Regions from separate parts of the Homo sapiens genome. Here regions 2, 3 and 4 are each linked to region 1. Evidence: promoter capture Hi-C in human tissues and cell types (Jung and others, 2019). All regions are on one chromosome and are shown on one strand. The core of a region is centred on a gene start or on the middle of the fragment in contact, and the rest is flanking DNA. Distances in the headings are between cores, read along the strand shown. Region 1 holds the start of SPTBN5 (spectrin beta, non-erythrocytic 5). Region 2 holds the start of ITPKA (inositol-trisphosphate 3-kinase A). Region 3 has its middle 40 kb from the start of TYRO3. Region 4 overlaps TYRO3 (TYRO3 protein tyrosine kinase).

Region 1 (6,761 bases), core at 1,917-4,416:
GTAGCAGGCAAGCATGCTTAGGACAGAAAACCACTGAGTTTACTCAGGTAAATGCGGGCCTAATACAAGAGTATTGGGTTCCAATGTTGGTTAACCAATGCAGTTAATACGCAATGCTTCTATTTTTTTTCTTTTTGTAATCTTATTTAGAAGTTTCAAACAAAAAGACATAGTCTGCTGATCAATAAACATGGAGCTGCCCTCTCCCACTGGCTCATTTTCCAGTGGCTGCGTGCTGGCCTCTCGGAGCAGAGTGTGGATCCCTGGATCCAGGTTGAACCGGGGGAGAAGAGTTAGGGAGAGGGTGTGCCTGTGAGCCCCAACTCTTCCTGTGGAGAGAAACCCAAAATGCAGCCGCTTCAGAAGGAAAGCGGCCCCATCAGGTGGGGACAGAAGAGGGTAGGCAGCAGAGGCCAGGTCTGTGGACAAAAGCCCCACTTCAGAGTGGTTGGAAGCCAGGACAGGAGGGACTCATGGAGGTGACCGCTTCACAGGAGTCCTTTCTCCAGTCGTGCTAGGGAGGAGCCCCTGCCTGTCCAGCACTGCCCCTGCCTCTTGCTGTACCTTGCCAGTGTGCCCTCCCCCCGCCCACTACCATAGTAGGCATCTGGCTTTTCCCACCAACCCATCTACCTTTTTGGTGGTCCAGACCTACAGTCTCCTTGCAGAGCACTCCTCCTCCCACCCTCACTTCAAGTGAGGTTTGGATGAGATTGACCACATCCCCTTGGTCACAAATATTGGCTCAGGAATGGACATGTGGCCCTGTTCAAGCCTATGAGAGCCAGGACCCCCAGACTTATGTTAGAACTCTTGAGAGAGATACTCTGTCTTCTCTGAACCTTGCAGTATATAGAAATGAGCCTATTGATGCAACAATATAAATGGCACTGAGAGGGGTGTCCAGAGCTGCTGGGGTCAGGGGAGGGAGGTCAGCCTGGCAGAAGCCATCTTGTGGAGCATGAAAATGAAAGAGACCTTGAGAAAGGCCAGAGGAATCCAGGCCTGTGGTGACAACATTTGAGCTGCTGGATCAAACCTCACCTGAAGTCCTTCCTATTCCTACTAGATATTTTTTTCCACTGTGTGGGCCAATGCATTCCCTTTATACTGTGTAAGCCAGGCATGGTGGCTCACACCTATAATCCCAGCAATGCAGGAGGCTGAAGTGGGAAGATCGTTGAGGCCAGGAGTTCAAGACCAGCCTGGGCAACCTAAGAAGACCCTGTCTCTAAAAAAGAATTAAATATAAATAAATAAATAATAAAAATATAATGTTTAAACCAGTTTCACTTGAGATTTTAGTTACTTGCAACATAAATAATCCAAACTTTGTTCCGACCCACAGGGTTCTCATTTCACCAGGGGCTGCAATCAGTCGTGGCCAAACAGGAGCCAGTCCTTGCATTGTATGCAGTGGCTTTAGCTGCCGTTGAGCTAGAAAGGAAGAAAAGCAGTCCACAGCCCCCGCCAACAGCTTCAAAATGCCAATCCCTGTTGAGGTCTATGTGCGAAGCACCACGCAGTTCAGTCTGTCCTCCCCGCTCACAACATCACACAGGACTCCACGGGCCGAGCAGTTCAGTCTGTCCTCCCACGCTCACAACATCACACAGGACTCCATGGGCTGAGGGTCTTACTAGGAGAAGGAACAAGCTCAGTCTCCCTGGGGTAAGCGGGTGGGATGAGGGACTTCCTAGAAGAAACAGGATTTTAACTGGGGCAGGCAGGATAGGTGAATGTGGATGATGGAGAATGGGAAAGGACGTTCAAAGCTGAAAGAGCAGCTGAAGCCCAGCCTTGGGGCAGGAGAGCTCTGGTCCTGCTCAGGAAATGGTGAGTGGCCCATGGAGAGCACCCAGAGTGAGGGGGGCAGACTAGCCTGGTTAGGTAAGCTGGCAGGCTTCCAAGGCCTGGCTGAGGCAAGGTCTGGCAAGTCTGGATTTTCCTTCCCAGGCTGTGGGAGGCTTCACAGGCACGAGCAGAGCTGCACTGTGGAAAGGTGCGGGGTGGTGGTGTCCAGGATGCCGAGTTAGGGGGTCCGTGATGAGGACCCCCAGGGGCAGTGAGGGCAGAAGGGGGGGTGCACGGGAGGACCGCCACAGCAACTGCTGCGAGCAAGGGAGGGACGCAGGGTGTCTGGAAGCCAGCCGCTGCAGAAGGGGCCTGGCAGGGAGAGGACAGCAGGAGAGGAAGCGTCTCTCAGACGCAGGAAGCCGCACCCCACCCGAGACCACGGCACCTCTCAGCGTCACCCCTGACTGCCTGCAGTGGGCCCAGGCGGTTCAAGTGTGACTCATCCCTAGCCCAGCTCTCAAGGGCGCGCTGAGCGGCTGTCCTGCTGTGGGCTGTGGCTGCCAGGAGCGCCTCCCTGAGGAGCGGGCTGTCGCTTCAGAGGCTCCAGGGCCGCTGGAAGACACCCACACACACACACCCCAGCCCACACTGCTACCCTGAGTTTAGCCAGAGGCGGGTGAGACCCCCAGAATTAGAACTCGCCTTCACTCTGGCATGTAGTCCACGGCTGCTCGGGGAGGAAGGGATGGGCGCCCACCAGCTCCCTCTGCACCCCTGCCTCCGAGCCCCGGGCCACGGCCAGCTCTGTGGAGCCCAGAGTTAACACCGTGTCTCTAATTTTGGAGGAGACTCCACAGCCCTCGCAGTTCCAGGTCACCCCTTCCTCCAGGGAGCCTACCCTTCAGCCCCGGGCTAGGCAGGCTGCACTCTGGCAGGGCCTGGAAAGCCAAGCCCAGGGTCTGTGAGGCCCTCAGTCTATGGGCTGTTCCCTGGGGGTGAATGAGAAGACCACGGCCCAGGACGCTCCCTCATCCCCTCGCCCTGGGTGCTCACAGAGAGGCCCCAAGAGGGTACAGAGGGCAGTCTCAGATTGGGAAGTGCGTCCACAGGCTTCCCACAGAGGCTCTGCCCTTTGGTACCTCCTACGCAGACTGCAGCACCCCATGCGGTGGCAGGGCCGCTCCATGGGCCTCTGCGTCCTGGGAGCCAGGACCCCCACCTGGAGTTGGAGAAGTTGCTGGCGGGGAAGGGAGGATGATGAAGGAGGACATCATCTGGCAATGGCCCTGGAGCATTCCTGAACCACCCCCTCCCTGTCTGGGCCACGCCCTGTGGCAGGTGGGAGGACAATGCCGCCTGTGTGCCGTCACCCCAGCACGCTGGCTCAAGGGGAGGGCTGTGGTGCAGCCCTGCTCCAGCCTTGGCCTCTCCTGATGTCCCTCTCCCTCCCTCCACAGCCCCTGCTATCTGCCATCTCCATCCGTCCAGCTGGGCCGCCTCTGTGGAACCCAGGCATCACCAAGGTAAGCAGCCCCTGCTATCTACCATCTCCATCCGTCCAGCAGAGCCGTCTCTGTGGGACCCAGGCATCACCAAGGTAAGCAGTTTCCTGTCTTCCTTCCACCTGTCCCAGTCACTGTGGTGGAGGGACCTGGCAGCAGGGGCTCTGAGAAGAAGAATCTGGAAGGTGGGGTGGGGCAAAGGGGGCCCTGGGCCATTCAAGCACAGGGGACCAGAAGCACTGGCCCTTACCTGGCTGGGCTCCAAGCTGCAACCCCCATGAAATGTGAGGACAGTCTGGCAAGGCGGGACCCCAGGCCCCTGGTAGAGGGGCCATCTCCATTCACATCATCCCCTAATCTGCATGCCCTCCAGGTTTAGGGAGCCATCCAGCAGCTCCTCATCCCCAAAGTCTGCAGGGCTGATGGCTGGTCAGCCCCACAGTCCCCGGGAGCTCCTCGGGGCTGCAGGGCACCGCAGCAGGAGGCCCAGCACAGAACTCCGGGTCCCGCCCAGTCCAAGTCTCACCATGGACTCTCAGTACGAGACGGGCCACATTCGCAAGCTACAGGCCCGGCACATGCAGATGCAGGAGAAGACTTTCACCAAGTGGATCAATAACGTCTTCCAGTGCGGCCAGGTGAGTATAGCCAGCTGTGACCCACAGCCCACCCATACCAGGCCCCCAGCTCTGGCCAGTGGGCCTCCGGGGTGAGCTGTGGGGTCATCTGCCTGAGGCCAAGCTGAGGCCAGAGCTCCTTCTTCCAAAGCAGCTGCTCTGGGTCGTACCTCTCAGGTCCCAGGATGGGAGGACAGGTGAGGCTGGGCTGACCCCATACTTACCCCTGTCCCCTCCCCAGGCGGGCATCAAGATCCGGAACCTGTACACAGAGCTGGCTGACGGCATCCACCTCCTGCGGCTGCTGGAGCTCATCTCAGGGGAGGCCCTGCCACCCCCGAGCCGGGGCCGCCTGCGTGTGCACTTCCTGGAGAACAGCAGCCGAGCTCTGGCCTTCCTCAGGGCCAAGGTGGGCCCCAGGGAAAGGGGTCTGGGATGGTGCTGGGGCAGGCAGCTGGGACAGGCTGAACTACTGGGTCACCTTTCCTGCGCCAGGCCACTGGGCAGAACAGAGGAGCTGGGGCCTGAGTACAGGAGGAGTGGCTGGGACACAGAGGAGCAGAAGCCACGCCCTCCTCGCACAGCACCCCTGACTTGGAGAGCACCCAGCTGGCCATGGCAGTAGCAATCCAGGTCCCTACTGGGGTGGAAAATGTCACTGTCTGTCATAAGAGAGACTCACAGGATTCTAGGCCAAAAGAATCTTAGCGTTCTCTTAGGCTTTTCATTTCACAGATGAGGAAACAGAGGCCCTGAATTATTTACCAGGCAAGATCGATGGTTAACCAGCCAACAGAGCCCAGATGTGGGACTAAGACGGCAGGTGGGGAAGAGGAGCAGGGCCTGTCTTGGAGAAGGAGGGAGGAGGCCTCAGCAAATGGGGGGAGGCAGAGTCACCTGAAAGAAAGGGACAGGCTAAGGAGATGGGCACTAAAAGGAGGCCGGAGCTCCAGGGACAGAGGGACCCTCATGGCCAGGGTGAGGGGCTGGTGCAGGGGTGGGGTGGGGCAAAGGGATCATTGGAAACCGGGAACTGTGAAGGCCAAGGGCTCCTGGAGGTGGCTGTCCCTGGAGGCTGTGAAGTCACTGAGCTGGGCCTGGCTGGATGGAGCCTGACTGTGCGTGCCTATCACTATATCCTGGAGTGGAGCTTACATCCAGCCTCCTGGGGTGTGTTGGAGGAAAGCCAGGGAGGGGAGAAGCCCAAGCAAAGGGAATGGGAGTGACTGCTGTCCTGAGCAGGTGCAAGAGCAGAACGCTGCCAGCTGCAGAATGCTGGGCCCTAGTTGATCCAGGGACAATGACCCTGTGAGCCAGTCATCTCCCCTCCAGGAACTGGGGAAGGGTGTAAGCCCCACAGCCTTTGTCAGAGGTGTTGCAGCTCTCCCCAAGCTTTAATATACAGCATGTCACTGATACCTGTGAGGGTGACATCCTTGTCTCCATACACATAGGAGGCAACTGTGGTCTAGAAAGGATGACGGAGTTGCCGCAAACACACAGGGAATGTGTGGCAGAATGAGGGATGCATTCGCTTATGGAGATGCTCCCATGCCCTGGGCATTCTATGCAGGCGCTGGGCTCCACTAAGCAAAGCCCAGACCCCCACCTCAAGGCACCTGGCTTCAAAGGGAGACAGATTCATTGAACCCAGATCAGCGGTGTGCTGGTAAACGTTTAACAAATGATTCTCTGGGGGAAATAAAAACTCCAGTGTGCTGTATTCGCTGATCCTATGGCGTTAATACCCCCCATCACGGTGAGTTTAAGCCACCAGCGTGACATCGCTCAATAGGAAGTCAGGAGGATAGGCTCTCAGGAGCTGGGAGGAGCAGACAAACACCCCACTCACCAGAGGCTCCAACTCTAAGCCAAGGTGATTGACATGGCAGGTGGAATCCACCCCAGGAGCATGGGTGGGATCCTTTAGAGGCCAGCCAGATATACCAAAGTTTACCTAGGGGGACACCCAGGATTGCAGCTCCTCCCACAGGGCTAGTAGTGGCCGGCTGAAGCCAGTTGCCCTTCAGGTCTTATGGAAAGTCTCACTCCTTTTCTTTCTCCATTCAGTACTTACTGATCGATTGCCTGCTGTGTGCCACTCCCCTAGGATACACCAGAAAACAAAGCCAAGATCCTCACTTGAGCAGGGCAAGGGGATCGAGAGTGTGTATTTGGGTGGGAGAAATAGTCCTTAAGTTTCTGTGTTAAATAAAGTGGTCAGGCTAGGCAACATCTGAGTGAAGAGTTAAAGGCAGGGAGGTGAATAGCCATGCAGATACCTGGGAGAATACTTTCAGACAGCAGGCACGGCCCTGCAAAGGCCTGAAGTCCTGTGCTTAGAATCCCATGGAACTATAAGAATCCCATGGGCCTTGGAGCTATGTGATTCCACAGGGTGGAAGATGGAGCCACAGGGGGCTGGGGGCCAGATCCTGCAGGGCTTCTCCCCTTGACTCACCCATCCTCCCTGTCCAAATGGCAGGATGTAGGGCAGAGGAGTCTCAACTTTGGTGTACCTAAGAGCCACCCAAGGTGTTGTTCAAGTGCAAATTCCCAGGCTCTGGCCCAAGACAGTCTGACTGGGTGGAGCCTGGGAGTCTGGATTTATAGCTGGCCCTGTTGGAGCCGGAACAGAAGAAGAGGGCTGAGATTTGGGTGTGAGCCCAGGGACCCAGCCACCCCCTGAAGATCCCAGGACACCCTGGGAGATGGAGGCAGACAGTTGCTATTGTCTGTTGGGCTCACACATTGACTGTTATGACCCCTCATTTCCAAACCCTGCAGCTGAACCACTGATCTTGGCCCAGGTCTACCTGTAGCCCACACACAGGGAGTCCTCCTG
Region 2 (7,134 bases), core at 4,456-6,955, 400 kb after region 1:
AAGCCCTTTCCCATGGGGAGGAGATGGAAGTTATGGTAGAGCACTGGGTGGGAAGTCAGTAGTTGGTTCCAGTCATGGCTGTGTCACCTTCCAGCTGAGTGAACCCAACCAAGTACTGCCATCTGTGTGGGCCTGTTTCCCCTGGGAGGACATAGCTGCTGCCGTAACACGAACCATCAAATGCTACCTGCCTATTGCATGTCAGGCACTTTCTCATCTTCCATCAGGCAGCATTGCTCCCACTTTCCTACTGAAGCCCTTACATGGCACACTAGGGTGTGATCACGTGCCCAATCCCCAGGGATCTGGGGGTGTAGCCAGAAGCAGCCCACTAGAAGCATGACATCACTTTCAAAACTCCTTTTAAAATCTTTAAATACACACCAGGTTTGCATTCTGCTGCATAATAAATCCAAGTTTTATTATAAAACTCACCACCTCCAAACCCTCAAGTAAAATTCCAGGAAGATGATGTATGTGCCATGTATATTCAGCAGCACCATCCTGTACCCCCTTCTCCCACACTCAGTTTGAGAGCCATAATGAATGCACATGCATAGCAAGTGCGTGAAGTGGTATCATTCCCATTTTACAGAAGGAAATCAAGGGGAGTTACATCCCCTCATGCCCTGCCTCCAGCCTCCCAATCTCTGGCTGAAGCTATCAGCCCATCCTCCCTCCCCAAGTTCCAACTGCCCCAGCAGGTTCCAAAGTATCCCCAGCAGGATGCTACCATCCTGCCTCCCTTTGGGGGTTAAATGGGATGTGGCCTGAGAAAGTGCTTTGTGCGTGGTGAAGTGATGTGCAGCAATAAGGCAGTCTGAGTTTTGACTTCTGGGGAACACTGAGACCTGCCTGGGGGCCCTTCTCTACTGGATGGCCACCTTTGCCTTTATCCAAAAGAATGAGTTTAATGGCTGTAGGGACCTGCTAGAAGAATTTAGGGGATAGTGGGACCAGAATGGACTTAGTGAAGAGGAAACTTGCCTTGGGTTAGGCAGGGTGAGGGAACTGAACCATCCTTTTAGAACTGTGCAGAAACAGTGAGGAGGGCTGGCAGGTGGGCCTGGCAGAAGAGGATTTGATGTGTGTCTAAAAACCTGGGCTACTACCATTTGATTGATGGACCTGCTCCCAAGCAGGGGTAAAATGGTGTCATCACCTACTCTCTTGACCTTGGTTTTCTGCATCTCATAAGAATCAAGAGCAGCAGCAACTAAGGCCAGTCCTAGCTAGCAGGTTACAAAATACTTTTTTTTTTTTTTTTTTTTTGAGACAAGGTCTCACTCCCATTGTCCAGGCTGGAGTCCAGTGGTGCGATCACAGCTAACTGCATCCTGGACTTCCAGGGTTCAGGTGATCCTCCCACCTCAGCCTCCAGAGTAGCTGGGACTACAGATGTGAGTCACCATGCCTGGTTGATTTTTTGTATTTTTGTATGTATGTATGTACATATTTATTTGAGTGGTGCGATCTCGGCTCACTGCTACCTCTGTCTTCCAGGTTTGAGCGATTCTCCTGCCTCAGTCTCCTGAGTAGCTGGGATTATAGGCGTGCACCACCAACGCCTGGCTAATTTTTATATTTTTAGTAGAGACGGGGTTTCATCATGTTGGCCAGGCTGGTCTCAAACTCCTGGCCTCAAGTGATCTACCTGCCATGGCCTCCTAAAGTGCTGGGATTGCAAGTGTGAGCCACCGTGACATTTTTTTTGTATTTTTAGTAGAGACAGGATTTTGCTATGTTGCCCAGGCTGGCCTCGAACTCCGGGGTTCAAGTGATCCTCCCGCCTTGGACTCCCAAAGTGCTGGGATTACAAGTGTGAGCCACTGCTCCCAGCCTACAAAAGATTTTCATACCTATTATCTCATCTGAGTCCTCCGTCCTACCACCTGAGGTTGCTATGACAGGATTTAGCCCCCCTGCCAGTAATGGGTATGGCCAAGCATGGCAGGAGTTGTGCAAGTGTCATGGAACTCAAATCACTGCCACCTTCCACCTTAGGGAGATACCTCCCCCAGAGAACATCACGCTTTTAAAAATGAATGTAAGCCCAGGCGCGGTGGCTGACACCTGTAATCTCAGCACTTTGGGAGGCCAAGGCAGATGCATCACTTGAGGTCAGGAGTTCGAGAGCAGCCTGGCCAACATGGTGAAACCCCATCTCTATTAAAAATACAAAACTTAGCCGGTGTGGTGGTAGGTGCCTGTAATCCCAGCTACTCGGGAGGCTGAGGCAGGAGAATCGCTTGAACCCGGGAGAAGCTTGAACATCCTCTGGCTCGGGCCTCCCTCCATGAAGGTGCCCTCTCTGGGAGACTAACACACAGCCAGAGGCTACCTGGGTATCTTGAGGCAAAGGCTAGGATTGCTGACTGTGTGAGAGACTTTAATGAAGTCACAGGAGGGCCCTCTGATAATTCCTCACTCCTAGGGCTGAACAGGGAGTACCTCTCTCTGGGCAGGGCTTGGCTGGATACTAGCCTCAGACCCTCCTTTGTCTAAGCTCCATTCGGAAGCCTTGAAGACACCTGCTCATGCCAGATACACAGTGTATCTTCTGCTGGAGCAGACCAGCAGGTGGGTGAGTGCTCTGTCTTTGGCACTCACCCTTGCTCCCTGCCTCCAGTCATCCAGGCTCTGGTTGAAGCTCTCTACCAGCCCAATACCCTCCCCATGTTCCAATTGCCCTATCAAACTAGCACTCCCTGTGGTCGTGGTGGTGGGAAGAGCAATCAGTTTAAATTTATAAAACGATTTGCACTAAGGTATAAGTGACCCACGACTTCACCTTCCCATGGGCATTAGCTGTTTAAAAAGGAAGTCTGTTAACCTAAATTCTGCTCTATAATTAGTGGAAAGCGATGTGTGGGAATTCTGAGTCCAGGAGGGGATGGCATCCAGGTCTCCTTACCTATCCTGGAGCACAGAAAGAAGAAAACCAGATGAACAGGAGCCAAACACCCTCTCTTTTCCTCCAGCAATACCCCACAATTGTTTGAGGAGGCAGGCAAGGCCATAGAGTCATGCAGCTGACCTTGCGGGTGGGCCTCCAACTTCTCCCCTGGCTGGTTAGGAAAAGCCTGCCTGTGACTTTTTCCTCTGCCGGAGTGAGGCTGCCCAGTTTCAATTTCCCTGCTCTGGGCAGGCTGGAGAGGGCTCCTAGGAGGTGAAGGGGACTACGTATGCCCCAGGCAGAGAGGTAGGCAGGCAGGCAGGCAGAAACTTCCTGGGCTCCGGCCTGCCTGGGCCGCGCGTAAGGGGCTGGTAAGCCGGGAGTCCTAGAGTCCGGCCCACGTGCATCCTTCACGGTCAGCCGGACCAGCCTTGCTTCCTGCCTGGGGAAGCCCTAAATTGGCCTGGGCCGGCGCGCTGTGCGGCTCTGGGACCTGCGGCGAGGCAAAGTCCGCCCTGGGCCCTTCCACACGGACTCAGGCAGCCTCTGTCAACAGCCCCTGGCTTATCTGCCGCCGCTGTGGCTGTTTGACTTCGGGGAGGCCCCGGCGGGCCTGGGGGTGGGGAAGGCCTGGAAGCCGCAGCCTTGGAGCTGGAAGGGCCCTCAGCGGCGATTTGCACCGGCTCCCGACGGCTCGGAGGGCGGCGGGGTCGCCCAGGTCCCCGAGGCTTGACCTTAGCCGGGGCGGTCTCTACACCCAGGCTTGGGCCGCAGGACCTCCTCCTAGCGCACTCCCTCTCCCAGGCACTTCGCCGAGTCCCTGCGGGCGGAAGAGGGAAGCGGGACGCGCCCGCGCTTCGCGCCCTTTCGCCTGCACCGGCTCTCAGGTGTCAGAGCTTCCGCGCCCCGGGAGCTGCTGCTCAGGCTTTTCCGAAGAGGCGGGGCGGGGGGCCTCTCACTGCCCCACACTCCACATCCTGGGAAGCCCCGGCATCCGCCCCCCGACCTAGGCAAGGGTTACCCCAGAAACGATCCTGGGTCCGGGGCTGCTCTGACCACCGGGGAAGAAGGGGAAGCGGCAGGCTAGTGACCGAGCCGGCGCACCCAGCACCTGGCGGCGGGGGGTGTTCCTGCTCTGTGAGGCTTTTCCCCTCTGGTGTCACTGACAAACCCCATCGGCCTCCGGGCTTGTGAACCCCTGCAGGTCGCCACAGCTTCCCTGCCTTGTCCCAGCCGATTGTGCGGCGGAGCAGGCGCGCGGCCACAGCTCTCCCCGCCCCGCCGCGCCGACCCGGACTTATGGGCAGGCCCCAGACGCCCGAGGCCGGGGGCGCCCCTCGCCTCTTCCTCGGCCTCAGGGACACTTGCGAAACGTGGATCTAAAGAAAGTCCTTCGCGCTGACCACGGACAGTTATTCAAGGTATTTGGCCTTGGTTAAAACGAGGGGAACAAGGAGGGTGTCCCGGGAGCCGCACATCCCTAAGTGGCGGGCGTCAGGAATGACTTAACAGTGCCCAGGGCTGTGTTTTCCGAGGGTCAGACCTGGTCCCAGAACACCCAGGCTATCAGAGGCAGAGACTAGCAGAGTGATCCTGCCCCCTTGCAGCCTCAGTTTACCGCCCCTCTCTGCCGCGCTCAGGAGCGGCGAGCCGGGAAGATGGGAGGCAGGGCGCGCACTGGGTGGGCTGCGTTCCGCTCCCAGCCAGAGCTCCCAGGCCCACGCCCCTCCCTCCCCTGCGTCCACGCCTCGTGCGGGCGCTGGGAGCAGACGGCAGCGGCTCCCGAGCAGAGCCTGGAGCGCCGCTCCACTCCCACTCAGGAGAGGGAAACCGTGGCAACGGCGGGGGTGCGGCCGCGGCACCGGAGAGGGGGCGGGGGGTAAGGGAAACTCTCCTTCGCCTCTCTCCTTCCGAGGGTTCACCCGGCAAGGCTCAGCCCCTCCGATCCCTCCTGTCCTAACCCACAGCCAACAAGGTCCGCTACCCCCGCTTCGCCCAGTCCCCGCGGCGGGTCGCCTGCTCCTCGCCCCGCTTCTTAGACGCCCCAGGGCCAGCGCCACGACCCGCCGGCGGAGCCGAGGTGAAAGTTGCCCAGGCGAGAGGTCGGCCAGGCGCCTCCCTCTGACCCCCAGATTCCTCCTAAACCGCGAGAACAGGACCTTCCGCTGGAGGGAGCATGGACAGGAGCGGGTCCTCCGGGAGCACCCAGCCAGGTCCCCCGTGCAGCCCCCGCGCCCGGCGCTGGCCCCGCCCCCGCGGCCCGTACCTGACCCACGTCCTCGCCCGCTTCCAGCTGCACGTTGCCGCGGCTCCGGCTCTCACTGTCGCTCAGCAGGTCGTCCTCCGAGTCCTCGAGCAGCGACGAGGAGCCAGTGGAGGAGACCGACGAGGTGGAAAGGCGGCGCGGCTGCTGCAGGTGCGAAGAGCCCGCTGCCGGGAGGCAGTCCCTCTCCCGCTCCGGCGGCCCAGGGCTGGTCGGGGGCACGTCGGGCTCCTCGGCTGTCACGGTCAGCTGAGGGATCACCGGGGCCGGGGGAGCCCGCGGAAGCCCGTTGGGGACCTGTCCCCCACGCCGCTTGGCCCCGCGGGCCCGGGGCTCCCCCGCGGCGGCGGCCGCAGCGACCGCCGCACAGCGCGCCTCGAAGAGCAGGCGCAGCTCCCCGACACTCCGGCGCGGGGCCCGCTCCAGCCCCGGGCTGCAGGGCCTCGCGCCCCCCGGCCGCGCCATGCCCGTTGGGCCCCCGGGCAGGGTCATTTCCCAGTGCCGGCGCCGCCGCTGAGCCCACCAGCCCGCGGCGCGCCGGGGACTGGAGCGGCTCGGCGCCCCCGGCTGGAGACGGCCCCGGGGCGGAGCCTGCGCCGCTGCACGCCCGCGCCCCGCCTCGGCCGCGCCCCCCGCCCACTCCTTCCACTTTCAGAGAAAGCGCGGGCCTCCCAGGGCCCCTGCGAGGGAGAGAAGGCTCTCGGTGACTCCTCGGGGTGGCGGGGAAGTCCAGCCTCCGTAGGCACAAAACCTGGGCCCGGGCCCCGAGGCTTCGCTCCGCCTGCCCTCGGGGAGGTGGGAGGGGCCGCTCCGCGCTGGGGCCTCGCAGCCTTCCCGGGCTTCGCGGCTGGGAGAGATTCCTCCAGGCCGCTCCACAGGCCCTGTCCCCGCGCAGGAGAAGCTGGTCCTACTCTTGGTCCCCTACCCCGTTCCTCGGGTTCCTTTGCGTGTTCATCCCTCCCGGGCAAGGGCTTCAAGTCTCGGGGCCTTTCTCCGGCCCGAGCTCCTGAGCAGAGTTGAAGGCCCCCGGCTTCCCGAAGAAGCCCCACCCCAGGGCGTGCACCCAAGTGGAGACTCTGCCCCAGGGACTAGCTGAGGCTGCTCCCCGCAAGTTCCCCACTTCCCGGCGGGCAGAGAACAAGGTCAGGGGGCGGGGCCTGGATCTGTCCCCATGGCCCAGCCTAGTCCCGGGCTGCATCTCCCCCGCTGCTGGGTGGCAGGAGCTGAGCCCGCCTTCCTCCTCCTCTGTTATAGGAGCTCGGGGCTTGGAGTCCGCCGTGTGGCGTTCAGCAAGTCATTTCACCTCCCTCGACTGCGGATTCTCCCGTTGCTGCGAGAATAAAATAAAAGACTTGAAATCAGGTACACCACACTCTAGATGTGATTTGTAGGCAGTCCCTTTACTCCCTCCGTATATTTCTGCATTTGTACATTTAGAAAAACCTCATCCAACCCACAGAGTTGTGTCTGTAAAACTAGGAAGACAGCACTGATGTTTAAGAGTTTCAGACACTGCAAAGTGCTTATCAGTGTCATTCCATGTGGATCTTCGGCCACTTCCCATGTTGGTAGTCAGCTGACCGACCGGCGAGGCTGCTTTGAGGAGAAGCCACTGTTTCCTATCTTACCATAGTGCCACAGGAGTGAGGGTCCCCCCTCAGGCACTCAGTGTCTGGGGATGGCTGGGGCCCTGGAGACAGAGCAGCCCCAGAAGGATTGCCTTGGATGCTGAGATGGCCGCAGGAGGGGCTTTCCTTCCCTTCTCTCCCCTCAGCCAGGGCTCAGGAATGGCCCAGGAGAAGGAAAGAAGAAGGTTCAGTGGGAAGACGGGAATCTTCGGCAAAGCATAGTGGCTCAGGCTTGTAACCCCAGCACTTTGGGAGGGCAAGGCGGGCAGATTGCTTGATCCCAGGAGTTCGAGACCAGCCTGGGCAACATGGCAAAACCCTGTCTCTACTAAAAATACAGAATATTA
Region 3 (6,524 bases), core at 2,795-5,294, 300 kb after region 1:
AGAAGTTCTGAAAACAGGCTGGGCGCAGTGGCTCACACCTGTAATTCCAGCACTTTAGGAGGGTGAGGTGGTTGGATCGCCTGAGGTCAGGAGTTTGAGACCACCCTGGCCAACATGGTGAAACCCCATCTCTACTAAAAATACAAAAATTAGCCAGGCATGGTGGGGCACGCCTGTAATCCCAGCTACTCTGGAGGCTGAGACAGGAGAATCACTTGAACCCGGCAAGCGGAGGTTGCAGTGGGCTGAGATCACTCCACTGCACTCCAGCATGGAGCGAAACTCTGTCTCAAAAAAAAGGAATTTCTGAAAACATACTAATAGCATCCTCTCTGACTATCATACTGAGGAATGGAAAGTTTTTGTGTTAGGGAATGCAATTTAATCCTAGATTATGGCCATCACAAATGATACTTATAATTTGCATTATACAAAGCTCTCTTATCAATGAAAGCTGATTTAATCTTTGTTGTATTCTAGTGAAAAGGCCAGAGAAGGGTCTTAACCCTATTTAACAAATACAGAAGAAGATTCAGAAAATATCTATGATATATCCAGAGTCAACCAGGCCAGGAAAGGATAAAAAGCAGAATGAAAGGAGTGAAACCCCAAGAAAGAAAGCAATGAAGTGAACTCTGCCCTCAGAGAAGCTGTGAGCATCTTAACAGCTATGATGTATGGGACCCTTTGCCAGGATTAAGGGAAAAAAGTGGAGCAAAGCCACTCAGTTCTACTCACCTCCCCAACTCTTAACCCCTCGACCAGGTTGCAGAGGCAAAAGAAACCTGGGAAGGTAGCCCACAGGTCTTCCCAGGGATGGGGACCATGGAAACACCAGCCTTTATTATTAATCAAAACTGCAAGCTTCCTTCCTTCCTTTTTTTTTTTTTTCTTTTTTTTTTTTTTGAGATGGAGTCTCACTCTGTCCCCCAGGCTCACTGCAACCTCCGCCTCCTGGGTTCAAGCGATTATCCTCCCTCAGCCTCCGAGCATCTGGGATTACAGGCTCCCCCAACCACACCCAGCTAATTTTTGTATTTTTAGTAGAGACAGGGTTTCACCATGTTGGCCAGGATGGGCTCGATCTCTTGACTTCATGATCCGCCTGCCTCAGCCTCCCAAAGTGCTGGGATTACAGGCATGAGCCACCATGCCCAGGCTTCCTTACTTTTTTATGCATATTTGATGGGTCACTATAAAATGTTAACCAGGAACTCAGGCTAATACCATCACATAGGCTGGATTTCCAGTTCAGGTCATGGGCAGGCCATGCTCCTTGCACCATGGTCCTTACCAGTCTTGCTGGAGGTCAAGCTGCCCCAAGGAATGAAGATGCTGAAAAAGGTCTGTCTCCCTTCTTTTTTTTTTTTTTTTTTTTTTTGAGATGGAACCTCGCTTTGTTGCCCAGGCTGGAGTGCAGTGGTGCGATATCCGCTCAATGCAACCTCCACCTCCCAGGTTCAAGCAATTCTCCTGCCTCAGCCTCCTGAGTAGCTGGGACTATAGGCACCCGCCATCACGCCTGGCTAATTTTTGTATTTTTAGTAGAGACGAGGTTTCACCATGTTGGTCAGGCTGGTCTCGAACTGCTGACCTCGTGATCTGCCTGCCTCGGCCTCCCAAAGTGCTGGGATTACAGGCATGAGCCACCGCACCAGGCCCTGTCTCCCCTCTTGGACCCTGGCATGCAGTAGGTTGCTCCTGTGTTGTAAAGGAAAGATGATTCTTGGATGAGGCTTACCTCTGCTAAGTAAGCCCTGAAGAGTGCAGAAGAACACCACCACTGCAACATCCTTGGACTGTGGTGGCAGGAGACACTATGTGTGATGGGAGGCAGTGTGACAGTGTGGCTAGCATTCAGTCCTGTCTAGGAAAGGAAAGAGAAATAAAAAGCTTGAACACAAAACAAGTACCTCAAGTGCAGGCTGTGGGAGAGAAGGATATCTGGGATCTGGTGCCAGTGAGGGGGCCAACTGGCTGGCACTGAGCCTGCTTAAAGGTGTCTCAGACATTTGGCCAGTGTGTTTCTCAGAGCTGTGGTCACAAAAGATGGACTCTTCCCACCCAGAGGATGCAAGGACAGCACACTGTGTCTTTCTGGCCATTGGATCCTCTCCCTTTCCCCAGGCAGCTTGCCTGGCCTCATCCTCTGAGTGATGAGTGAGAACCCCCACTGCCCTCAAGGACAACACAAGGTCTTACCCAGAGCCCAAGAGGGGAGGGTGCCAGCAGGTGCCCAGGAGTGGGGCCCTAGCCCAAGTGGAGCTTTCCTGAAGGTGCATTCCTGAAGGCCACATGGTAGGCAGTCAGCCAGAGCAACTCTGTCCCCTCCCCTCTTCCCATCTTATATGTATTCAAACCAGGAAAAATGTGACAGCACATGGGCAGCCTAGGCAGTGAATAAATGCCTCAGGCATCCTCTTGCAGCAAGTGTCTCTATATGTTATGGCTGTTTCCATCTTACATTTCCTTGAATGTTTATATTTCTTTCTGTCTCTCTCTTTTTTTTTTTTTTTTTTTTTGGTTTTGTATTTGTTTGTTTGAGATAGGGTCTCACTCTGTTGCCCAGGCTGGAATGCAGTAACGTGGTCTCAGCTCACTGCAATTTCCACCTCCCAGGCTCAAGCCATACTCCCACCTCAGCCTCCAAGGAGCTGGGACTATAGGAACACACCACCACACCCAGCTAATTTTTTGTACATTTTTAGTAGAGACAGGGTTTCGCCATGTTGCCCAGGCTGGTCTCAAACTCCTGGGCTCAAGCGATCCACCCACCTTGGCCTCCCAAAGTGCTGGGATTACAGATGCAAGCCACTGAGCCTGGCCAAATGTTCATATTTCAATAAACCTCTACCTCTTCTCTCTCTCTCTCTCTCACACACACACACACACACACACAGAGAGAGAGAGAGAGAGAGAGAGAGAGAGAGAGAGAGAGAGAGAGAGAGAGAGAGAGAGAGAGAGAGAAGGCTGGGCATGGTGGCTCATGCCTGTAATCCCAGCACTTTGGGAGGCTGAGATGAAAGCATCACTTGAGGTCAGGAGTTCGAGACCAGCCTGGGCAACATAACAAGACCTCATCTCTACAAAAAATTTTAAAAATTAGCCGGATCTAATGGCACACACCTGTAGTCCTAGCTACTTGGGAGGCTGAGAAGGGAGGATTGCTTCAGCCCAGGAGGTCACGGTTGCAGTGAGCCATGATCATGCCATTGCCCTCCAGCTTGGGTGACATAGCGAGACCCTATCTCAAAAATAATAGTACATTATCAAGAGTAGAACTCTGTATTTCTGCCTTTCCCTCCCACCCTCACTCTCCTTCTGCTGCTGCTGTTGCCATTTGCTTTTTTCTCTTCCCTCAGCATCACTCACTTCCTCTCCCTTTTTCGCATGAGTCTTTTTCTCCCCACTCCTCCTCCTCACTGTTTTCTTCCTGTGCTCCTAGAAGAACCAAACAGTTCCATTTTAGGGACTCTGAACCCCAGTGGAACAGGATTTGGTTGGCTGACCTGGGGAGTGGAAGACATCATAGAAAACCACATTGATATGTTGGGGCCGGTTAACCTGGACTGGTCTGGACTTTCCCTGCTGTCCTATTGGCAGCAACTCAGAGAGTCCAGATGGCCCTAGAAAAATCTGTGGTCCAAGGATACAAAAACAGAATTGCTTTTAAGCCCCTAGAAATGCTGAATTGCTGTTTATGGACTCTGGAATAGAGCTGAAGCTGGGACCCTCTAATAGCTGAAATGTGACCTAAACTTACAGGGGTACAGTGTGGCCTCACCCAAGGATCACTGGGCATAGTCAGGAGCTCCTTGAGATAATGCTGATGGGAGGAATATCCATACTGGGAATGAAGACTCGGAGAGACATAGACCACCTCTTGGCTGGAGGCAGGAAGAGGACAACCCGCCCAAAAGGAGAAATATGGTTCAGGGAAAGCTCCTATATTCCCCAGCAAACGGGACAGTTCTGGGCTGAGTACGTCACACATTTGTACTCTTGCACAGTGCCAAAATGCTGTCCTAAGTCCAGTGCAATGGAGGTAAGCACATGCACACATCTTCTTATGGAGAAAGATGCCCCTTCTGACCTTGGGAGCTGATTACATTCTGGTTTAACATTTGCTTTAAAGCACTGTAAAAGGTAACAGTGTGTGGCCAGGCGCGGTGGCTCACGCCTGTAATCCCAGCACTTGGGGAGGCCGAGGCAGGTGGATCACGAGGTCGGGAGATCGAGACCATCCTGGCTAACACGGTGAAACCCTGTCTCTACTAAAAATACAAAAAATTTGCCGGGCGCGGTGTTGGGCGCCTGTAGTCCCAGCTACTCAGGAGGCTGAGGCAGGAGAATGGCATGAACCTGGGAGGTGGACTTTGCAGTGAGCCGAGATCACGCCACTGCACTCCAGCCTGGGCAATAGAGCGAGACTCCATCTCAAAAAAAAAAAAAAAAAAACACAGTGTGGCCAGGTGTGGTGGCTCATGCTTGTAATCCCAGCACTTTGGGAGGCCGAGGCGGGTGGATCACCTGAGGTCAGGAGTTTGAGACCAACCTGGCAAACATGGAGAAACCCTGTCTCTACTAAAAATACAAAATTAGTTGGGTGTGGTGGTGCATGCCTGTAATCCTAGCTACTCGGGGGGCTGAGGCAGGAGAATCGCTTGAACCCGGGGGCGGAGGTTGCAGTGAGCCAAGATCGTGCCATTGCACTCCAGCCTGGGCAACAAGAGTGAAACTCCATCTCAAAAAAAAAAAAAGATAACAGTGTGACCATGTGGAGTCTGTTTTCCCCTTGCCCAGTCCATAATGAGTAGATATTTGTGGCTAAGAAAAGGGATTACGGCAGTGAATGGCCATGAGCCAGACAGGAGCCATGTTAGTTGCCAGTCTTGGGATTAGAGCAGAGGAATTGCCAGAGCAGCTAAGGGGAAGATTATCTAAAATACCAAGAGGGAGAATAGTTTTCTTACCCAACTTACAATGAGAGTATAAGCATCTGGGCTCCCTAAAGACAAGCCACATGGTCAGGGCACGGACAAAACAGTGACCAGCCTGACAGCAGGACCCTCTAGAGAAGATAAGATAGATGTTAAGTTAGGCCAGGCCCGATGGCTCACACCTGTAATCCCAGCACTTTGAGAGGCCAAGGCCACCCTGGCCAACATGGCAAAACCACATCTGTACAAAAAATAGAAAAATTAACCAGGCCTAGTGGTGCTTACCTGTAGTCCCAGCTACTCAGGAGGCTGAAGCAGGAGAATTGCTTGAACCTGGGAGGTAGAGGTTGCAGTGAGCCAAGACTGCACCACTGCACTCCAGCCTGGGTGACAGAGTGAGACTCCATCTCAAAAAAAAAAAAAAAAAAAAAAGATAGATGCTAGGTTAGAATAATTCAGTAGGGAAATCTGACTTCGTTAAAAAACTTACTCTAAGAAGAATTTGACAGGAGACATGATAGAGGCAGAACAATCCTAGAAGCACAGAGTTAAGAAGGAACCTAAAGAACATTTAGAGTCTTAAAAAAAAAACACAAACAGGACTAGGATCCACTGGATGGAGTGGCTACAGGCAGGGTGAATCAAGCCGAAAAGATAACAGATAGGGACCAGTAAAGGAACTCCTCTTCTGGCAACCACAGCAAAGAGCAAAGGAGGTGGCTAGCTTCTGTAGGATCAGAAGCCCGAAGCCAAGGAAACCCACTTATGGGAGATTCAGATAAGACCTAGCATAACACAGTCTCTAACTCTGGGACACAGAACCCAGCTCAACGTATAATGGGAAGGACTTGGGTCCCAAGCATGACAGAGGAGTTCTTGAGCATCCAGGAAGAAAAGTAGCTAATGGAGCCTGGTCTTCCCAGAACGGAAGGTGACACAGAAAGGATGAGAAGAGAAGAAACTCACAGTTGGTGTCAGTCTTCCTGAGGCTTTTGTGTGATCTGGGAAAGCGTTGTCCATAAATCAATGCCAACAAGCCAAGTTTGTTTTAACTCTTATCCTATGGCTATGTCCAAACCTGACCCCTCATCTTTATTAAAAAAAAAAAAAACACTTTAGCACCACCCCAGGAATTCCATGTTATTTAAAATATGAGTGCCACTGGTCCCAGCACTTTGGGAGGCTGAGGAGGGTGGATCACAAGGTCAAGAGTTTGAGACCAGCCTGGCCAACATGATGAAACCCTGTCTCTACTAATACAAAACTTAGCCAGGCATGGTGGCACATGCTTGTAGTCCTAGCTACTCGGGAGGCTGAGGAAGGAGGATCACTTGAACCTGGGAGGTAGAGATTGTAGTGAGCCGAGATCATGCCACTGCACTCCAGCCTGGGTGATAGCTTGAGACTCCGTCTCAAAAAAACAAGCAAACAAACAAAAAAAAACGCCGGTCGAGGTGGCGTGGCTCACGGCTGTAATCCCAGCACCTTGGGAGGCTGAGGCAAGCAGATACCTCAGGTCAGGAGTTCGAGATCAGCCTGGCCAACATGGTGAAAACCCCATCACTATTAAAAATACAAAATTAG
Region 4 (6,466 bases), core at 54-2,553, 320 kb after region 1:
GATCCTCCCACCACAGCTTCCTGAGTAGCTGGGATTACAGGCACATCCTAGCTTATTATTTCTCACAACAACCCTATGAAAGCAATGATCAAATAGAAATCATTTCCACATTTACAAATGTGGAAACATGCACAAAGAGGTTAAGAACCGTGACTAAAGTCACACACGTGGAAAGTGACAGAGCTGTGATTTGAAGCGAGGGGGTTGACTCCGAAGTCCCTCCTGTGCTGAGTGGGCAGTACCTACTCAGTAATTCCTCACCGTGCAGCCGGACACAGTGGTATGCACCTGTAGTCCCAGCTACTCAGGAGGCTGAGGCTAAAAGATCCTTTGACCCCAGGAGTTCGAGACTAGTCTGGACAACATAGCGAGACCATGTCTCTATTAAAAAAAAAAATTAATAAGCAAGGTATGGTGGTAAGTACCTGTAATCCCAGCTACTAGGGAGGCTGGGCAGAAGATCTCTTGAACCCAGGGGTTTGATGCTACAGTGAGCTGTGATTGCATTACTGCACTCCAGCCTGGCTGTCAGAGCGAGGCCCTTTCTCTTTTTTTTTTTTAAAAAAAAAAAAAAAAAAAAAAAAGGAAACCTACTGAATCAGGCCAGGTGCAGTAGCTCATGCCTGTAATCCCAGCACTTTGGGAGGCCGAAGCAGGTGGATCACTTGAGGTCAGGAGTTCGAGTCCAGCCTGGCCAACATGATGAAACCCCGTGTCTACTAAAAAATACAAAAATTGGTTGGGCAAGGTGGCACACACCTGTCATCCCAGCCCTTTGGGAGGCCAAGGTGGGCAGATCACCTGAGGTCGGGAGTTTGAGACCAGCCTGATCAACATGGAGAAACCCCGTCTCTACTAAAAATACAAAATTAGCTGGGCAGGGTGGTGCATGCCTGTAATCCCAGCTACTCAGGAGACTGAGGCACGAGAATCGCTTGAATCCAGGAGGTGGAAGTTGTGGTGAGCCAAGATTGTGCCATTGCACTCCAGCCTGGGCGACAAGAGCAAAACTCCATTTCAAAAAAAAGAAAAAGTCCTCACTATTCATATATAACTTTTGAGTATCTGGAAAAAGCTTCCAGCTCTCCTGCCAACAGGAATTAATTTTTTTTTTTTTTTTTTTTTGAGATGGAGTTTTGCTCTTGTTGCCCAGGCTGGAGTGCAATGGTGTGATCTCGGGTCACCAGAACCTCTGCCTCCCGGGTTCAAGTGATTCTCCTGCCTCAGCTTCCCAAGTAGCTGGCATTACAGGCATGCGCCACCACGCCCAGCTAATTTTGTATTTTTAATAGAGGCGGGGTTTCTCTATGTTGGTCAGGCTGGTCTGGAACTCCCGACCTCAGGAGATCCGCCTCCCAAAGCGCTGGGATTACGGGCGTGAGCCACCGTCCCCTGCCAGGAATGCTTTTTTACATACAATTTCAGGAACCTTATAAATTCCCTGAAGCCTATCACTCAGGATGCCCAAGGAATGCCTCAGGCTCAGGTGGAAAAATAACAAACCAAAAACCTAATGGAAAGACGCTGAGACCAAGTCCAATGAATGCAAATGCCTGACTCTCTTGCCTATGCCCATGACAAGAGCCCCAAGCACTGCCTCACACACCAGCACACCCCCAGCAGGGGCCACCAGTAATGGCAGTAATCATGCCAGACACTGAACAGGTCGTGGGAATGGGAATGGTCTGGGGCCGTGGGTACATGGCCAGACTGGGACACGTCCTCAAGGCTGTGCTAGGAGCCAACTGGCGCCTGTCCACCAGGCTGCCTGGGTGAGGCCAGTGCCTGCCCACTCTCCATTGACAGCACCAGCTCCAGCTGGGGAGGAGGCTGCGCTGGGGTCTGGTCCCCACTGCCCTTCAGAGCTTCTACAGCGCCAGATTAGAACTGAAGCAGGCTGCAGCCACAGGGAGATGTGAGCTTCCTGCCCCTTGCCATGCCCTGAGCTCTGCTGAATGAACAGGAGGGCCAGGGCCTGGCTTGTCTACTCAAGATTTCCCTCTCAGGTGTAGGTGAGTTACCCACAGCCCAGGCTCAGGGCACTTCAAACCCACTGTCCAAGGGAAGGACCCCACCATCAGGCTGAGCCTTCCTGTGCCTGTCCATGACCTCGGCCCTCTGGAAGTCCAATCCCAGAGCAAGAAATGGAGCAGATTCTTTCTCTGGTCACAGTGGCTCCCACTCCCCCTGGGGCTCATGAAAGGTCCTCTGGGCTGGGCGTGGTGGCTCACACCTGTAATCCCAGCATTTTGGGAGGCCAAGGCAGATGGATCCCTTGAGCCCAGGAGCGCAAGACCAGCTTGACAAATATGGCGGAGCCCTGTCTCTACAAAAATACAAAAATTAGCCGAGTGTGGTGGCACGTGCCTGTAGTCCCAGCTACTTGGAAGGCTGGGGAGGGAGGATCACTTGAGCCCAGGAGGTTGAGGCTGCAGTAAGCAGAGATCACGCCACTGCACTCCAGCCTGGGTGACAAAGCGAGACCCTGTCTCAAAAAACAAAACAAAAAATACTCACAAAAGGTTGTCTGAAGGCCTAGGGAGCCCTTGGCTTGGATGGAGTGGGAGTGTAAGACTAGAACAGACAAATCACAGTTGTTGTCATAAAGAGTTAAGAGTATATATTCTAAAACTACAGGGATCTAGGTTCAAATTCCAACTTATTCACTTACTAGCTCTGTGACGTTGGCCATGTTACTTAATCTCTCTAATCCTATTTTCTCATCTACAAAGTGGGGATAAATAATAGTCTTTTCCTCATAAGGTCAGAGGAAGATTACCTGAAAGAATGCCTAAATGCCCAGCTAATGTCAGTGACACTTCCCATTATCTTGTCACAGGGTCTGTTATCACTGTAGCAAAGTGGGTGGTATCATTGCCTGCCCAGTCCCGAGGGCTTTGGGCTTGCAGAAAGAAGAGGAGGCAGTTCCCTTCTTCCCAGGATCTCAGTTCTTTATCTTAGATTCCCAAGAGAGCTCAGCCTAGGAAGTTTTCTTAGACTAGCTGGGGTCTCCAGGACAAAGGTTGTATTCACTAGGGTAGAACAAATAAAATAAAATAAATACAAATTAAAAAAAGAAAAGGAATGACGGGTGGGAAGATGGCAGGGAAACCTCCCACACTGTTACTCAGCACTGTGCCTTCTGCTCTTGGGGTTCCTGGTTCTCCTTACAAACTGGAGAAAAGAGACTGATAGACAAAGGCTAAAGCAAGAAATCTGGGATGGGAAAGGGGGAAAGAAAGAAAACAGGGAGGTGGTAGATGAACAGTGAGTATGAGGTGGAGTGCAGCCTTCCAACTACAAGGATGTTTCTATCAAAAAACAAAGGTCCAGTTGAGGCAACTGTGGTGGCAGCCATCAGCCAAAACTCCAGATTCCCCTTTCCTTCCAGAGCCCCCTTCCCAGGATACTCACACGTCCTCCATACACTCCGGAGGCTGTTTCAGGCGGTTCCCGCCAATGAGGTAGTTGTAAATCTCAGCGTTTTCGATGCCAGCATATGGCGTCTGCCCACGTGTCATGATCTCCCACATGGTCACCCCGAACGCCCACTGGGACAGAATCGAGGTTGGGGGAGAAGCTGTCACTAGGTGTCCTGAGCCAGGCAGAGAGCCATGGCTCTGAGACAAGCACAACCTGGGGCTCAGGGCCTCATCAGGGGGCAACCAAACCCCAGAGAGCAGACTTGGCTAGGCCCTTAAGGATCCTAAAGGTCTGCTCTCACACTCGTCCCCACCAAGCTTCACGGGCCACCCTGCTCACCACGTCACTCTGCACAGTATACAGGTTGTCGGCCAGGCTCTCCAGGGCCAGCCACTTGACAGGCAGTTTGGAGGCACAGCCTTGACGATAGTAGTCCCCACTGTAGATCTTCCGGGAGAGTCCGAAGTCAGCCACACACACTGTCATGTCCTCTGCCAGCCTACAAGGGGCATTGAGGGAGAGAGTCAGCCTTCTGCCATGCTCACAGGCCCACAAGAGCCAGGACATCTTTGCATCTTTGCTCCCAAGCTACCCCCATGCATAGCAGATACTGTCCCAGGCAGGAGCCGACCATCAGCTAGCTCCTCTTGGCACCTGCTGCTGTCTCCCACCCTCGAGTCCTCCAGAATTCGTACATGCAATTCCGAGCAGCCAGGTCTCGGTGGATGAAGTTCCGAGAGCTCAGGTACTCCATGCCGCAGGCAATGTCCACCATGAACCGGATCAGGGTCTGGAGGGGTAGGTTCTAGTGGACAGACAGGCCAAGCTCAGGCTTAACCTGCCCACCCAGCTGGGGCAGGATGGATGGGGGTCCCTGGCCAGAAAGCCTGAAGGCTGTCCCCAGAATCACTGGAAGGAAGGAAGGGGATGGAGGGCCTTCCCAAGGCAAGGAAGCTTCGGCTAGCCTAAGAGGGAGCCTGGAAGACGAGACTCCCCCACCCTGGGGCTCCACAAGTCCCTCCCTCTAGAAAGGGCCCTTGCCCAGCCTATATTTCTCAGCAGGGTTTTGTGAGAGAAAAGAAAGCCTGCTAGATTAAAAGGATTCAAACTCAGACCCCTCCTACTCCCACCCAGCTCCATCAGCCCTACCCAGCAAGCCCCTCTCTGCCAGGGTCTCTATGCCTTTCCAGGCCCTGTGTTCCCACCCGTTTCCTCCTGGCCACCCCCACACCAGGTACTCACAAAGGGGTTCTCCCCAATCCGGGAGGCGAGCAGGAAGGCATGCAGGTCCCCATGCTTCATGAAGGGCAAGATGACCATGGGGATGGGGAGACGGCCTTTAGCCCTGCTCCGGAGGCTTACCCCTGGGACAAGGGAGAGTCAGGAGCTGAGCATAGAAGGGTCAAGGGGCAGTTCAGGTGTCTGCATAAGTCCCCACCTGCTGGGTCCCATCTCTAGCTCTGGCTCTGCTATTTATTTTTTATTTTTTCACAGGCTCCACACTGGTCTGGGGACTACCCAGGAGGGACTCTGGCTGCTCCCATATCCCTGGAGCATCTTCTGTCCCCTTCCTTTCCTTCTCTGTCCACACAAGCAGTCTTTGTTTTTTCTGAAACAGTATCTTGCTCTGTCATCTAGGCTGGAGTGCAGTGGCGCAATCACAGCTCACTGCAGCCTCAATGTTCTGGGCTCAAATGATCCTCCCACCTCAGCCTCCCGGGTAGCTGGACAAAGGTGCACACCACCACACCTAGCTAATTTTTGTATACGTGTGTGTGTGTGTATGTTTTTTGTTTTGTTTTTTTTTTTTAAATAGAGGTGGGCTGTTGCTATACTGCCCAGGCTAGTCTCAAACCCCTGGCCTCAAGCAATTCTCCCACCTCAGCCTCCCAAAGTGCTGAGGTTATAGGCATGAGCCACCACATCCAGCCACACAGTCTTCATGTGCAGACCTTTGGCACTCCTCACCTCAGATTTCTGCCAGGACCCTCCTTGCTATTTTGCCATCTATTTATTTACCAGATGAGTCCAAAAGTCTCTCCTATAGGCTGCCATCTCATATTGGTAGAGCATATTTTTAGCCCTATTCTCTATCTGCCTCCCCCAAAAATGGGCTCACCAACAAGTTTGGCCACGTGTGGATGGTCAAACTCCTTCATGCAAGCTGCTTCCCTGAGGAACTCTTCAATGTCGCTTGAGGCAATGATGTCAGCTAGGAGAAGGGGATGGGGAAGGAGGAAATAAAACAAGATGTGCCCCTAGTTTTGACCCAGGCCTCCTAGGTCTTGTCCTTCAGATGTCCTAGGCTTCCCAGGGAGCCCAGGAAACAGCCCAGCCATGAGCAGGAGAAACCCCCAAGGAGTGGTGATACTTAGCAACTTCTCCACTTGCTAATGCCTTCCCTTCCCTTTGGTTTGGGCAGCCCAGCAGGTCAACCAACCACAGCTGTAATCACCCAAGAGGGGACTCAGAGGACAGTCACTGCCGATGGCAGAGAGCAATGGCTGGGCATGAATATGTATGTTTGGGTTTATGCTTGTGAATTATTCGTGTGGTAAAGAGCATCCCAGTTAGTGCTGCCCAGCTCTTCTTGGAAAATCTAGGGGCAAAGCAGAGCCTGCTTCAGGGTCAGTCGCCCCTCTTACCCTTCCAAGTGATGCCCTCAGGCTACAGCTATCCCCCACTCACCTTTCAGCATCTTCACAGCCACTTTCACAAAGGAGCCATCCTCTTGCTTCAGCTGGGCCTCCCGCACTGAACCAAACTCTCCTAGGAACCAATCCAAGTAAGGGAGAGTCTCCTTGGCTCTCTGCTCCCTGCCAACCTTCCTCCCAAGTGACCCTCCATGGGAACACAGTCAGCAGACTCTGGGGCCAGTGGAGAAGGCACCCTTGCCAGTAGCCAAAGCAAGAGCATGCTGGGAGCAGCTCCTCAGCCCTCCCTGTCTCCAGCCACCATTCCCCACAAACATCCCACACTCAGGAGTCTACAAGCATATCTTGTTTACGGCAACCGACCCAAACCCACAGCCTCAAAGTGACAG

Evidence for each region. The method cuts DNA at HindIII sites, captures the fragments that hold promoters and counts their contacts. A contact is called where the count stands out against the background at its distance.
Region 2: the fragment with the promoter of ITPKA here is called in contact with the fragment with the promoter of SPTBN5 in region 1 in 4 of the 25 tissues and cell types used here (IMR-90 fibroblasts, heart left ventricle, mesenchymal stem cells and 1 more).
Region 3: a contact is called between a fragment that was not itself captured here and the fragment with the promoter of SPTBN5 in region 1, in 1 of the 25 tissues and cell types used here (mesenchymal stem cells).
Region 4: a contact is called between a fragment that was not itself captured here and the fragment with the promoter of SPTBN5 in region 1, in 1 of the 25 tissues and cell types used here (IMR-90 fibroblasts).

What each region holds. Positions count from the first base shown.
Region 1 is chr15:41,890,458-41,897,218 of GRCh38, reverse strand. SPTBN5 (spectrin beta, non-erythrocytic 5) reads left to right here and starts at 3,166. Exons shown (of 68, transcript NM_016642.4): 1 at 3,166-3,320; 2 at 3,673-3,937; 3 at 4,158-4,325. The coding sequence starts at 3,722. It overlaps LOC105370792 (a long non-coding RNA gene), which reads right to left and starts at 4,442. Exons shown (of 4, transcript NR_135681.1): 1 at 4,141-4,442; 2 at 1,883-1,992; 3 at 1-1,639. EHD4 (EH domain containing 4) reads left to right here. Exons shown (of 6, transcript NM_139265.4): 6 at 1-1,286. RefSeq lists enhancers at 4,322-4,381, 5,575-6,450. The HindIII fragment of the contact is 14,752 bases long and covers 1-6,128 here.
Region 2 is chr15:41,492,445-41,499,578 of GRCh38, reverse strand. ITPKA (inositol-trisphosphate 3-kinase A) reads right to left here and starts at 5,705. Exons shown (of 7, transcript NM_002220.3): 1 at 5,163-5,705. The coding sequence starts at 5,651. RefSeq lists silencers at 5,086-5,135, 5,246-5,425, 5,446-6,065 and enhancers at 5,802-6,302, 6,303-6,803. The HindIII fragment of the contact is 23,030 bases long and covers 1-7,134 here.
Region 3 is chr15:41,596,330-41,602,853 of GRCh38, reverse strand. No RefSeq gene overlaps it. Among named protein-coding and RNA genes, the nearest start is that of TYRO3, 40 kb to the right of the region's middle. RefSeq lists an enhancer at 6,390-6,524. The HindIII fragment of the contact is 5,329 bases long and covers 1,380-6,524 here.
Region 4 is chr15:41,570,764-41,577,229 of GRCh38, reverse strand. It overlaps TYRO3 (TYRO3 protein tyrosine kinase), which reads right to left. Exons shown (of 19, transcript NM_006293.4): 13 at 6,112-6,192; 14 at 5,543-5,635; 15 at 4,666-4,787; 16 at 4,119-4,228; 17 at 3,763-3,922; 18 at 3,415-3,551. Among named protein-coding and RNA genes, the nearest start is that of TYRO3, 15 kb to the right of the region's middle. The HindIII fragment of the contact is 5,513 bases long and covers 1-4,059 here.